Linked DNA regions of Homo sapiens: all the other regions are linked to region 3. Evidence: promoter capture Hi-C in 16 types of primary human blood cells and fetal thymus (Javierre and others, 2016). All regions are on one chromosome and are shown on one strand. The core of a region is centred on a gene start or on the middle of the fragment in contact, and the rest is flanking DNA. Distances in the headings are between cores, read along the strand shown. Region 1 holds the start of RCN3 (reticulocalbin 3). Region 2 holds the start of LIN7B (lin-7 cell polarity scaffold B). Region 3 holds the start of TEAD2 (TEA domain transcription factor 2).

Region 1 (4,529 bases), core at 425-2,924, 170 kb after region 3:
CCGAATCAGTGTGTTCTCATCATTTTTCAGGCAGGGGAGGTAAGGGAATAAGTCGGGGGACTGAATGGCGGCTGGGCCTCGGATCTCTCCTACAGGTAACATGCTGCCACAGGGGAACCTGCCAGTTTTATACATCAGGTCATGTATTTTCTTTTTCTTTTTCTTTTTTCTTTTTTTTTAGACGGAGTCTTGCTCTGTTGCTCAGTCCGGAGTCCTGTGGCGCGATCTCGGCTCACTGTAAGCTCCGCCTCCCTGGGTTCACGCCATTCTCCTGCCTCAGGCTCCCGAGTAGCTGGGACTACAGGCGCCTGCCACCATGCCTGGCTAATTTTTTGTATTTTTAGTACAGACGGGGTTTCACCATGTTAGCCAGGATGGTCTCGATCTCCTGACCTCATGATCCACCCGCCTCTGCCTCCCAAAGGGGTGGGATTACAAGTGTGAGCCACCGCGCCCGGCCTAAGGTCACTTTTTTTTTTTTTTTTTAAGACAGAGTTTTGCTCTTGTTGCTCAGACTGGAGTACAATTGCGTGATCTCAGCTCACTGCAACCTCCGCCTCCCAGGTTCAAGCAATTCTCCTGCCTCCCAAGTAGCTGGGATTACAGGCATGCACCACCACACCCGGCTAATTTTTTGTATTTAGTAGAGACGGGGTTTCACCATGTTGGTCAGGCTGGTCTGGAACTCCTGACCTCAGGTGATCCACCTGCCTCAGCTTCCCAAAGTTCTGGGATTACAGGCATTGAGCTACTGTGCTCAACCTGAGGTCATGTATTTTTAATTCATAACTTTTACAAATATTTACTGGATGACTGCCATGCCAGGCATTTTGAGGAATTCTTGGCTACTGTCTGACCACCTGAATCCTTGGAGCCGAAGAGGAGCGAGGAGCAGTGTTCACTCTTGGAGGAAATGGGATATTTCCTCCGGCCCCTTGATTCTGCTCTCCCTTTTCTTTTCTTTTCTTTTCTTTCTTTTTTTTTTTGAGACGGAGTTTCGCTCTTGTTGCCCAGGCTGGAATGCAATGGTGCGATCTCGGCTCACCACAACCTCCGCCTCCCAGGTTCAAGCAATTCTCCTGCCTCAGCCTCCCAAAGTAGCTGGGATTAAAGACATGCGCCACCACACCCGGCTAATTTTGTATGTTTAGTAGAGATGGGGTTTCTCCGTGTTGATCAGGCTGGTCTCGAACTCCCGACCTCAGGCGATCCGCCCGCCTCGGCCTCCCAAAGTTCTGGGATTACAGGCGTGAGCCACCGCGCCCGGCCTTTTTTCTTTTCTTTCGTTCTTTTTGTTTATTTTTGTTTTGTTTTGTTTTGTTTGGTATAGAAGTGTTGGAACGTACACCTCTTTCTTAAACCATCCTGACAAAGGGAAAGGGAAAAATACATTTCCCGTGAGGCGTTGTGACTAGAACAGCTGGAGGTGGACGGCAGAGTGCCGCGACGACTGCCAGGAGTTGTAGTTCTCCCCGGCCGCGTCACTGCGGTGTCGCCCACCCTTCTTCCCCGGGCAGGCCGCGGTTTCCTTTGTGGACGTGGCGAGGAGTGCCCGCGGCACCCCGTGCACTCATTGGCCCCGCCCCGTGAGACGCTCGTGCGAGCTCATTGGGCGGGGGGCGGGGCTCTGCGCTGCCAGAGGCGGGGCCTGACTGGAGAGCGGCCGAATTGGGCACATTTGCGGGAACGCAGAGCGGAGCGTGGAGAGCGGAGCGAAGCTGGATAACAGGGTAAAGGGAGTGGGTGGGGGGCCTCTGTCCAGGGAGGGCGGCTCGGGTCGAGGACCAGGGTCCGGACTGGGAGCAATGACGGGGAGCCTGCCTGACCTCTCGCTGGCCACAACTATGCCCTGCACCTTGCGTGGGATGTGCGCCACGTCTGTCTCTGTAATTCCCCCTGGCAGGTCTGGGACCCCCCTGAGACTCCGTCAGAAGATTCGGTCCTCCCCATAGGTGGCTTTACCTCTAAGCATCCCGCCCTCTTTTCCCCCATCGCCCGCCCTTTTTGAGCCCGAAAGCTTGCAGCCAACTTCCAACTCCCTGTCCTGTCCTAGGTAACCCCTCCACCCCGCCATTCTCCTATCCCGTGTCTGTCCCCATCCCTGTGACCCCTGACCCCTGGCCTTTGCCACTCCCCAGGGACCGATGATGTGGCGACCATCAGTTCTGCTGCTTCTGTTGCTACTGAGGCACGGGGCCCAGGGGAAGCCATCCCCAGACGCAGGCCCTCATGGCCAGGGGAGGGTGCACCAGGCGGCCCCCCTGAGCGACGCTCCCCATGATGACGCCCACGGGAACTTCCAGTACGACCATGAGGCTTTCCTGGGACGGGAAGTGGCCAAGGAATTCGACCAACTCACCCCAGAGGAAAGCCAGGCCCGTCTGGGGTAAGAGAGACATTCGGTTGGGGCGTGTCCAGAGGTGGGGCTTAGGAGAGAGACGCGGGGGTATCGACAGGGGTCAGAGAAATGGCGTGGACTGAACTTCATTTCTTTGTGAGAAATGAAATTCTACCTTCTATCCTTGGGAAAAAGAAATTAAGTTAAAATTGAGGCCTAAAGAGGACCTTTGAGACCGGGCGTGGTGGCTCATGCCTGTAATCCCAGCACTTTGGGAGGCCAAGGCAGGCCGATCACTTGAGGTCAGGAGTTCGAGAACAGCCTGGCCAACATGGTGAAATCCCGTCTCTACTAAAAATACAAAATTAGGCAGGCGTGGTGGTGGGCACCTGTAATCCCAGCTACTCGGGAGGCTGAGGCAGGAGAATCGCTTGAACCTGGGAGGTGGAGGTTGCAGTGAGCCAAAATTGCACCACTGCCCTCCAGTCAGGGCGACAAAGTGAGACTCCGTCTAAAAAACAACAACAACAATAAAAAAGAGGACCTTTGAGGGCAGCAAAATCTGGGTTAGATTCTGCCCCCTAAGCGCTCCTTATTCTTTTGTCCCAGACATCTCCCCTCCCCAAGCCTCAGTTTCCTGCTCTGTAAATGGCAGGGACTGGTGTGGAAAATGAGGTTTGGCCTTTAAGGAGCCCGGCCAGTGCAGGAGAGTGGCAGAGCCCTGAGTTTCAGGGTGAGCTGGGTGGAATGGAGCCCTGTCCACCCTCTCCGTCCAGGCCTGAGCGCAGGGGGGCGCGATGGGAGCAGCCGCCTTCTTCTGTGCATCCTCCTGACACTGATTGAGCCTGCAAAGGTTTATCGAGCACCTGCTATGTGCCAGGCACTGCTCTAGGTGCTGAAGTCACAACAGCTAACACATCTGTCCTCCTGAAGTTTACACTGTGGTGAGGGAAACAGCAAGAAGTCAATAAGTAGAAAGTGGATCAAATAGAGATAAATGCATCCAAGAAAGATAAAGCAAGAGAGTCAGAAAGTGTGGAGGGGAGAGGTTGTTGGTGGGGGGGAGTTGCAATTTTTATTTATTTATTTATTTATTTATTTACTTATTGAGATGGAGTCTCGCTCTGTCACCCAGGCTGGAGTGCAGTGGTGCGATCTCGGCTCACTGCAACCTCCACCTCCTGGGCTCAAGCAATTGTCCTGTCTCAGCCTCCCAAGTAGCTGGGATTACAGGCGCTAGCCACCACGCCCAGCTAATTTTGTATTTTTATTTTTTATTTTTATTTTTGTTGTTGTTGTTTTTGAGATGGAGTCTCGCTCTGTCACCCAGGCTGGAGTGCAGTGACGTGATCTCGGCTCAGTGGAACCTCCGCCTCCCGGGTTCAACCAGTTGTTCTGCCTCGTACTCCCTAGTAGCTAGAGTCCTAGCTACAAGTGAACGCTACAAGTCCTAGCTACAAGTGAACGCCTCCACATCCAGCAAAGTTTTTTTTCTTTCCTTTTTTTTTTTTGGAGACAGAGTGAGACTCTGTCTCCCGGGCTAGAGTGCAGTGGCGTGATCTCAGCTCATGCAACCTCTGCCTCCCAGGTTCAAGCAATTCTCCTGCCTCAGCCTTCCGAGTAGCTGGGACTATGGGTGCACGCCCACACGCCCAGCTAATTTTTTTTTTTTTTTTTGTATTTTAGTAGAGATGGGGTTTCACTGTGTTGCCCAGGCTGGTCTCGAGCTCCTGAGCTCAGGCAATCCGCCCGCCTTGGCCTCCCAAAGTGCTGGAATTAATGCGTGAGCCACAGCACCCAGCCCAGGCCCAGGTAATTTTTCTTTTTTTTCTTTTTTTTTTTTTTTTGAGACGGAGTTTTGCTCTTGTTGCCCAGGCTGGAGTGCAGTGGCGCAATCTCGGCTCACCACAACCTCCGCCTCCTGGGTTCAAGTGATTCTCCTGCCTCAGCCTTCCGAGTAGCTGGGATTACAGGCATGCACCACCATGCCCGGCTAATTTTGTATTTTTAGTAGAGATGGGGTTTCTCCATGTTGGTCAGGCTGGTATCGACCTCCTGACCTCAGGTGATCTGCCCACCTCGGCCTCCCGAAGTGCTGGGATTATAGGCATGAGCCACCGCACCCGGCTGGAGCTGCAATTTTAAACAGGGAACTTGGACAAGGCCTCCATGAGAAGGTGGTATGTGGTAT
Region 2 (4,487 bases), core at 771-3,270, 250 kb before region 3:
CATGTGGTCAGGCTGGTCTCCTGACCTCAGGCGATCCACCCGCCTCGGCCCCCCAAAGTGCTGGGATTCCAGGCGTGAGCCACCATGCCCAGCCACACTTCTTTTTAAAAACACTCGCAGCCAGACACAGCGGTTCGTGCCTGTAAACTCAGCACTTTGGGAGGCCAAGGCAGGGGGATTGTTTGAGCCCAGGAGTTCAAGACCAGCCTGAGCAACAAAGACCCCTCCATCTAAAACAAACAAAAAAAGAAGATAAAATTTAAAAACCCCTCTTCTCATGGTTTCTCCCACCTGGGTTTCTGCCTACATTTCAGGCCATTCTCTGCTGTCCTCCTGACTTTTAAGTGTTAGAGAGGTCTGGGGACCAGTTCTAGGCCGTCTTAATATTCGCTTGCCCCTGACATTCTTATCCACTCCGGTGGTTTTATTTACCACCTATGCCCCAATATTCAAACATGCCTGCAGACCAGGTTGCTCTTTTGAGCCCTAGACCTAGATCGATAGTTTCTCCCCATGGATTCTGCATAGGCTCCTCAAATTCAAAATATCCAGTATCGGCCAGGCAAGGTGGCTCGCGCCTGTAATCCCAGCACTTTGGGAGGCTGAGGCAGGTGGATCACTTGAGGTCAGGAGTTCGAGACCAGCCTGGCCATCATGGTGAAACCCCATCTCTATGAAAAATACAAAAATTTGGCAGGTGTGGAGGTGCACACCTGTACTCTCAGCTACTCAGGAGGCTGAGGCAGGAGAATTGCTTGCACCCGGGAGGCAGAGGTTGCAATGAGCCGAGATCACGCCACTGCACTCGAGACTGGGCAACAGAGGGAAGACTGTGTCTCAAAAACAAAATATCCAGTATCCCTCTTTCAGTGTAGACCATCTTAAAAATGGCACCAAAGCACCTTAATACTGTCTTCTCCTGCACCTCCCAATCCCCTTATATAGCCAAGCACCAAGGCTTGTCTAGACATTTCCCACATCTGCCCACCCATCTTCTGTGCTTTGGCCCTGGTGCTAGCTGCCACCTGGATGGCTGTGGTAGCCTCGTAAGTTGCCCCGCTGCTTCTCCTCTTGTTCTTGTCCAAACCAGTCTCCACAGTGGCTACAGTGATTTTTTTTTTTTCAATAGATACGAGGTCTCACTATATTGCCTATGCTGGTCTTGAACTCCTGGGCTCAAGTAGTCTTGCTGCAGCCTCCCAAAGCGCTAGGATTACAGGTGTGAGCCACCGTGCCCGGCCCCAGTGATCTTAAAATACAAATTTGAGGCCCAACCTGGGCGACAGAGCGAGGCTCCGTCTCAAAAATAATAATAATAATAATATAATAATAATACAAATTTGAGTGTCATATTTTTCTCTTAGGAGTTTGCATGAAGCCCCAAATCCTCAAGGCGCATATGCCAACGCAGGAGCCCAGGCATAAACTATCCTGCCGACCTTTTCACCTCATCATCAACCAATCCTAACTCTGCTTCCAGCCACGTGGGCTCTTTCTGGGTGGTGGGGGTGACCCAAGCTCCACCTCTTGTTCATCTTACCTCCCAGGACTGTATGTCAATGTCCCTCCTCTAGGATTTCCTTCGTTTTCTAGATCATCACCTCCCCACTCTCAGCTCTCATCACAGCCGTAGTTGGTCGTCTACCTCCCCTATAGACTGGAAGCTTCGTTCGGGCCGTGGGCTTGGCTGTCCTGCTCACCACGGTGTCCATGACTTGGGCTCAGATGTTTCACAAGAGTTTGTTGAATGAATGTGGGGAAAGGATGGACAGGGGATAGACGGGTGTGGAGGGCAGGCAGACACGGATCCTGAAAGGTACACACAGACCGAACCTGCAGTGGGAGGGGTCGCCAACAGGACCGACTGGCCGGGGCGGAGGGCAGGGCGCGGCTGGCGCGCGGCAGGTGGTCGGAGCAGTCGGGCGAGGGAGAGCTGGGCGCTCTCCAGGCTGCGCCTCCGCAGGGGGCGCCCGTGGCCCGGGGCGTGGCCTCGCGCAGCCCCGCCCTCCTCGCCGGCGCCAGGGCAGGCGGGCGGCTGGCAGCTGTGGCGCCGACATGGCTGCGCTGGTGGAGCCGCTGGGGCTGGAGCGGGGTAAGCGTGCGCCAGGGGGCCCTGCCCACCCGGGCCGCGGCCTACATACCCAGCCCCCGGTCCCCGCCCTTCCCGGGTCAGGCCAGTGCGGGTGGGCCAGCGGACCCGGAGGGGGTGGGCGGGGCGGGCGCCGGGGCCGGGCGGTCGCTAGGTGTGGGAGGCTCCCTGGGCGCGGGCCGGGACGCTGGGCGCCCGCCTTACAACCCGGCCTGTGGAGGGGTCCCGGGGCCGCAGGGCCGCTGGTGGCAGTCTCTCCTGCGCCACCCTGGACTCTGCGGGGTGTCCGACTAGGCTTCGGCCGTCCTCCCCGGACTGTGCGCTCGGCCTCACTCCGCCGCTCTCCTTGCTTCTCTGCGTCTCGGGGTCTCTGACACTCGGGGTTTCTGCGCCCCGCCCCCGCCCCGCAGACGTGTCCCGGGCGGTTGAGCTCCTCGAGCGGCTCCAGCGCAGCGGGGAGCTGCCGCCGCAGAAGCTGCAGGCCCTCCAGCGAGTTCTGCAGAGCCGCTTCTGCTCCGCTATCCGAGAGGTGAGGGGCGCGCGGCGCAGGGGCGCGAGCTGGTGGCCGTCGTCCTCCTCCTCCTCCTCCTGCTTGTCCCGAGCCCGGAGACTACGCCTCCCGGCAGCTCCCGAGGCGGCCCGCCTTGGGGTGCCAACGCTTCAGCTCAGGGGTTCTTCGGGAGTTGTAGTTTTCTCGGCCTTCTGTTGCGGGGGCGGGGCGGATCCTTGCGTGGTAGCGGGAGAGGGTCTAGAGGCCTGAACTCCTGCGTCTAGGGCTGGAGGAGCTGGCGACTCCCTGATGCCGCTGCCTCCTCACCCAGGTGTATGAGCAGCTTTATGACACGCTGGACATCACCGGCAGCGCCGAGATCCGAGCCCATGCCACAGCCAAGGTGGGCCCCGCACCCCATTGCTCCTGGTGTCTATTTAACTGCCTAGTCGAACTCAATATCTCCTTCATGCCAGTCATTTCTGTTTCCTCCCTCATGATTTTTGCTAAATCTATGTGCCACCTTACTATTAGTAAATAATCGCACATTTTTAACTTAAATGTCATACTAAGGCATCTTTAGCAACTGCAAATGGAAACAGTATGGCATGGTTGGTAGAAGATAACCTTCAACATCTGTACAGTGCAAACCAGGAAACTCATGGCGCTCTGACCTCTCACTGCACAATAGTTAGATGCTGCTACCTCTTGCTGCTGTCCGGAGGCTCAGATCTCCCTCCAGGCCTGGCTTTCCTCTGTTTAAAAGTAAGATTGAGGCCAGGCACGGTGGCTCACGCCTGTAATCCCAACACTTTGGGAGGCCGAGGCAGGTGGATCAGTTGAGGTCAGGAGTTCGAGACCAGCCTGGCCAACATGGTGAAACCCCGTCTCCACAGAAATACAAAAAAAAAAAAAAAGAAAGAAAAAGCCGAGCGTGGTGGCGAGTGCCTGTAATCCCAGCTGGATTACAACTCCGGAGGCTGAGACAGGAGAATCGCTTGAACCCAGGAGGCCGAGGTTGCAGTGAGCCGAGATCATGCCATTGCACTCCAGCCTGGGCAACAGAGTGAGACTTCATCTCAAAAAAAAAAAAAAAGTAAGATTGGCAAGTATGGGGTATTCAAGACACACACCAAATGGACACTTTCTCTTGCAAGTGAACAGAAAGAGACGCACAGTCATTACAGGGGGATCGTGCATTGTGCCATGACAAGTGTCCCATGCTTGGGGATAGTAACCCAGGCTAAATCGCTGTCCTCGGTCCACATCCCCCACCCCAGCTTTCATGCCTACCTGGAAGGGGCCCTCATCTTCAGTCGCTTTCTCTCTCCCAGGCCACAGTGGCTGCCTTCACAGCCAGCGAGGGCCACGCACATCCCAGGGTAGTGGAGCTACCCAAGACGGATGAGGGCCTAGGCTTCAACATCATGGGTGGCAAAGAGCAAAACTCGCCCATCTACATCTCCCGGGTCATCCCAGGGGGTGTGGCTGACCGCCATGGAGGCCTCAAGCGTGGGGATCAACTGTTGTCGGTGAACGGTGTGGTGAGTGGAGGGCTGAGGCAGGACTGGGGGACACAGTCTGTCTAACGTAGCATAGCCCCTGCTTTTGACATTCACTCAACACACACTGAGTGTTGTCTGTATGGCTAGCCCTGTGCTGGGCAATGTTACAGACTCTGAGAGATGTTGGCCTCAGCTCCCTACACTCAACCTTCTCTCTCTGGGGAGGGCAGTAGGCCCCGGCTGAAATAGTCCTAATCCAGAGACATAATAATGAGGAAGTGCAAAGTATTGTGACAGCCCAGATGTGGCACCAGGCCAGCATAGATACAGGAAGGTTTTGCAGAGTAAGGAACATTTGGGTTGGGTGTTAAAGGATGAGTAGGAGTTCTCCAGGCAAACAAGG
Region 3 (4,497 bases), core at 1,998-4,497:
CAGAGGTTGCAGTGAGCCAAGATCGCGCCACTGCACTCCGGCCTGGGCAACAGAGCTAGACTCCATTTCAAAAAATAAACAAATACATAAATAACCCAGCCTCGGGTAATTCTTTATAGCAATACAAACGGACTAACACACATGCCGAGAAGACAGATGAACGCACAGGAAGCAGCTTCTTCCTTGAACCTGAACCTGCCCATGCGAGGATGACCCTAAGAAGACCGGCCCATCCCAGACAGAAGCCCACAAGTCCATTCCGAGACCTGTTTTCGAGTTCGGGTCTTCCCCGTTCTCAGCTTGATGTAGCGGGCGATCAGTTCATTCCGACCTGAAGATTCAAAGACGGAACAGAGTTAGTTAGACTTTCAACAGAACTTCCCCACAGCATGGACACCAGGGAAGAAGAAAGCAGCATGGGTCCCCAAAGGTCTGCAGCAAGTGGGCTGCCGGTCCCCTCAGCTACGTGGAAGCCAGACTGCTTGGGTTCAAATCCCAGCTCCATCACGCACTGGCTCTGTGCGACCATAAGCAAATCACTTAACCTAGCTGTGCCTCAGTTTCCTCATCTGTGCAAATGGTGATGCTAGCTCCTACTTCAGAGTGCTCCATAAACCTTGGTTACTGTCATTATTCATCAGTGGGGGCCAGGGCAAAAGACAGAAGTAGACTCACCATACATCTTGCCTTCATCAGACAAAATTATTTTCCGGCGGCCGCAGGGTGGATAGATGGCCAGGGCCTCCTGGAAGCTCTGCTCAATGTCTGGGCTCCACACCCCCTCTGCATCCGGGCCCCCGTCACCCCCAGCCCCCTCACTGCCGCCGGTACCCTCCTCACTGCCTTCCTCACTGCCCGTCCAGCCGCTGCCATCGTCCAGGGCGGCCCCAGCCCGGGGTTCCCCCATCTGGGCCTGGAGGAACACAGAACTCAGCAAGCTTCCCCCAAACCCCACCCTCAAGGGACTTGAAGCTGAGAGGGCTGGGACTCTGGACCACTGGGTCTGAGGGAGGAGGGGCTGGGGACCTGGACTCCTGGGTCTGAGGGAAGAGGAGCTGGGGGGTATTCCTGGGTCTGAGGGAGGAGGATCTGGGGCCTGAACTCCTGAGTCTGAGGGAGGAGGGGCTGGGGCCCGGACTCCTAGGACTGAGGGAGGAGGATCTGGGGCCTGGACTCCTGGGTCTGAGGGAGCGGGGGCTGGAGGCCTGGACTCCTGGGTGTGAGGGAGAAGGGGCTGGGGTCTGGACTCCTGAGTCTGAGGGAGGAGAAGGAGCTGGATTTCTTGGAAAGCTGAGGATGGGAGTGTTCTCAGAGTTTCCAGAGGAACTCAATTGTGATGAAGTCACAATGATTACCCTAGAGTAATGCCGAGGGCCATGAAGGCTAAAGGTTCGGGTATGAATTACGGGTTTTAAAGAAGACAGGAGGCAAAAGTTAGTGGTGGGGAAGGAAGGTGTGGGTGAAACTTCCCCTGTCCCACCCCAAGAACAGGTGGTAAGATGTGAGCAGCAGCTGCCAGAAAAGAAGAGGGGCCAAGCAAGACTGAGGGGAGGTCTAGAGAGAGGGGGACAGAGACCCAGAGAGGGAGGGGGACAGAGACCCAGAGAGGGGATGGGGACAGAGACCAGCAAGGGGGGGGGACAGAGACCCAGAGAGAGAAGGGGACAGAGACCAGAGAGAGAGGGGGACAGAGACCAGTGAGGTGGGGATAGAGACCCAGAGACAGAGGGGGACAGAGACCAGAGAGAGAAGGGGACAGAGACCCAGTGAAGGGGGGGACAGAGACCAGTGACGGAGGGGACAGAGACCCAGAGAGAGAGGGGGACAGAGACCAGAGGGAGGGGGGGACAGAGACCAGAGGGAGGGGGGGACAGAGACCAGAGAGGGGGACAGAGACCCAGAGAGAGGGACAGAGACCCAAAAAGAGAGGGAGACAGAGACCCAGGGAGAGGGGGAGACAGAGACCAGAAAGAGGGGGACAGAGACCGGGGGGGGGGGACAGGGACCAGAGAGAGGGGTCCAGAGGCCCAGAGAGGGAGACAGAGACCCAGAGAGAGAGGGTGACAGAGACCCAGAGAGAGGGGGACAGAGACCCAGAGAGAGAGGGACAGAGACCCAGAGAGAGAGGGGACCAGAGACCCAGAGAGAGGGGGACACAGACTCAGAGAGAGGGGGACAGAGGCTCAGAGAGAGGGCAACAGAGACCCAGAGAAAGGGAGACGGAGACCTAGAAAGGGCAGGGACAGAGACTCAGGGCAGCAGCTGAGGCCGAGACCAGGAGAGACCCACAGAACCACAAGCTGGGGGACAGGGGCGCCCTGCCATCAGAAGAGCCAGAACAAAGGGCCCAGGCGTCCCCTCCCCCAGCTTCCCACAACCCCCATCAGGGGAGGGGCTTGCCGGCCAGGGCGACTCCCCTCCGGCACCGGGCCCCGCCCCTCCCCTCCCCCGTGCGCCGTGGGCTCTGATCCAACTCAAGTTCCCAGTGACTTTCCGGAGGCCGGGAACAGGGAAAACTTTTTCCAATACAGTCAGATCCCGCCTCCCCGGAGGCTCCATGTCCTCCACAGCTTTCCCAGGACCCCAGAGTCCAGGCCCCTATTCCCCTCCTCCCGCCGACCATAGCAGACAAAGACCCCAGCCAAGCCCAGTGGCGCTGCGGCGTTCAGGACCCCCGTAGGCCAAAATCCCAGCCCAGCCCTTCCCCATGTGGCCAGACAAAGGGACGGTGGAGCCGGGTAAGAAAGGTCCCCCTAATTTCCCGCCCCAGACCCTAAACCTCCAAAGAGGCAAGACTTAAGATCCAGAAAGCCCCGTAACCTCCCCTCGGCCACCCCAGAGGCCCTCCCTTCTCCGTAAGAAGGACCAAATGCCCCCCAGATTACACAAGGGGTCCTTCTCACTCCAAAGTGACACCGCCGCAGACGCACGCCCCACACCCCGCCAGCGCCCTTGGCCCGCACCCGCTCCTGCGCGCACGCCCAAACTCAGACCCAGCCGCAGGCACCCTAACTCCGGCCAGAGTTCCCACTCCTCACTGAGGCTCGGTCACGGGAGCAAATTCGGGCCCCCGGGCAAAAAGAGGGCTGCGAACCATTCAGAGACGGTCCCGCAAACGCACGCCTCACCTCCTAAGAAGCAACTCCCCACCCCAACTCACACACCCCAAAGCAGGATCCCCGACTCCCGCCGGCGCCTTCCTACCTCCCGGCCTGGGGCTGGGGAGCCGCGGGCGGGCGGGGCGCTGCGAGGGAGAAAGTTGCCGGGAGCTTTGTTTGGGAAAAGTGGGAGGGACCGGAGGGGGGGGCGGGCCCGGCCGGCGGACAGCGGGAAGGGGGATCCGACGGTGACAGTTTGGGGAAGGATTTTTGCTTTGGGAGAGATTAGTCTATCTCGGGGCTGGTAGGAACTCAGGATTTGGGTGCTTGGGAAAGGAGGGGGATTGGGGGTTCGGACTCCAAGTCGGAGGGAAAAGGCTGATAGGAGCCAGAAACCCCTGATCTGAGGGAGGAGAGGCTGGGGGCTGGGACTCCTGGGTCTGGGGGCTGGGACTCCTGGGTCTGGGAGAGGAAGCGGCTGGAGAGAGATATGGGCTCCTAGGTCTGAGAGGGGACGGGGCTAGGCGCCTGGAATCCCGGCTACCCTCGTGTTTGTGTATTGGGGGTGCGGAAGTGATACGAATACAAAGAGTCTTTACTGTTAAGCCCTGAGGTTTTTTTTCTTTTTTTCTGTTTGGTTTTTGGTTTTTTTGTTTTTTGTTTTTTTTGTTTTTTTTTTTTTTTGAGGATTGGGGTCTGGGGATGGGTTTTGACTGATTCCTATGACGACCTGGTTTCCTTGTGACCTCACCACAGTTAAGAGTCGTGGGCAGGACCACCGGGAGTTTATTGGAGGCCCACGTAGGTGCAGATTCCTCATCTACAGGCGCTAGTGGACTGGAGACGGCTGGCGGCTGTCCCGGGACGGGGAAGAGAGCTTTGGTGCCTGAGGGAAGATGGCTTAGGGCCCGGTCCCTTAAGGGTGAAAGGCTGCGTGTTCAAAATTACGGGACTAGAGGGGGCGGGAGTCCGGACCTGAGGTCCTCAGGGAAAAGGAAGTCTGATTCTGGGTTCCTTGGAAGATGAAATATAAGACTGGATTTAGGGTTTCCGGAGACAACGGGACTTTTTAGTGGAGCGGGAGCGGGAAAACCAGAAGGGACACGGAGAAAAGGTTCCGAAACAGATACACAATTAGAGTGAGAGCTAAAAGGGATGCTTGTACTCCGGTGTCTCCAGTAGGAGGAGCCTAGGACTGGAACTTGGGGTGATGAGGGCAAGATCTGGGACGCAGGGGCGTGGTCCAGTGCAGGGGCGTGGCCCAGTGCAGGGGCGTGGCTTTCAGCCAAGGGGCGTGGCCATTGCGATTGGGCGGGACTCCGAAACGAGGGCCGCAATCAGAGAACACCGCCAGGACTTCCAGGACTTGGTCTCCAGGACTGAGGTCAACTGACGTGGG

Evidence for each region. Contacts are between HindIII fragments. The CHiCAGO score rates a contact against its expected background, and 5 or more counts as called.
Region 1: a contact is called between the fragment with the promoter of RCN3 here and the fragment with the promoter of TEAD2 in region 3, in 7 of 17 cell types (total B cells, non-activated CD4 T cells, total CD8 T cells and 4 more). The highest score is 6.4, in total B cells.
Region 2: a contact is called between the fragment with the promoter of LIN7B here and the fragment with the promoter of TEAD2 in region 3, in 10 of 17 cell types (total B cells, naive CD8 T cells, naive CD4 T cells and 7 more). The highest score is 10.6, in total B cells.

The regions. Positions count from the first base shown.
Region 1 is chr19:49,526,329-49,530,857 of GRCh38, forward strand. RCN3 (reticulocalbin 3) reads left to right here and starts at 1,675. Exons shown (of 7, transcript NM_020650.3): 1 at 1,675-1,730; 2 at 2,139-2,386. The coding sequence starts at 2,145. It overlaps FCGRT (Fc gamma receptor and transporter), which reads left to right. Exons shown (of 7, transcript NM_001136019.3): 7 at 1-100. RefSeq lists an enhancer at 1,591-2,169 and a silencer at 1,633-1,752. The HindIII fragment of the contact is 8,718 bases long and covers 1-2,015 here.
Region 2 is chr19:49,112,350-49,116,836 of GRCh38, forward strand. It overlaps LIN7B (lin-7 cell polarity scaffold B), which reads left to right and starts at 2,021. Exons shown (of 6, transcript NM_022165.3): 1 at 2,021-2,092; 2 at 2,500-2,618; 3 at 2,911-2,982; 4 at 3,914-4,123. The coding sequence starts at 2,056. RefSeq lists a silencer at 1,841-2,420. The HindIII fragment of the contact is 9,910 bases long and covers 1,663-4,487 here.
Region 3 is chr19:49,359,169-49,363,665 of GRCh38, forward strand. It overlaps TEAD2 (TEA domain transcription factor 2), which reads right to left and starts at 3,248. Exons shown (of 13, transcript NM_001256660.2): 1 at 3,165-3,248; 2 at 676-913; 3 at 267-331. The coding sequence starts at 907. It also overlaps a transcript of DKKL1 not described here. RefSeq lists enhancers at 577-1,077, 1,623-2,332, 2,333-3,041. The HindIII fragment of the contact is 6,430 bases long and covers 937-4,497 here.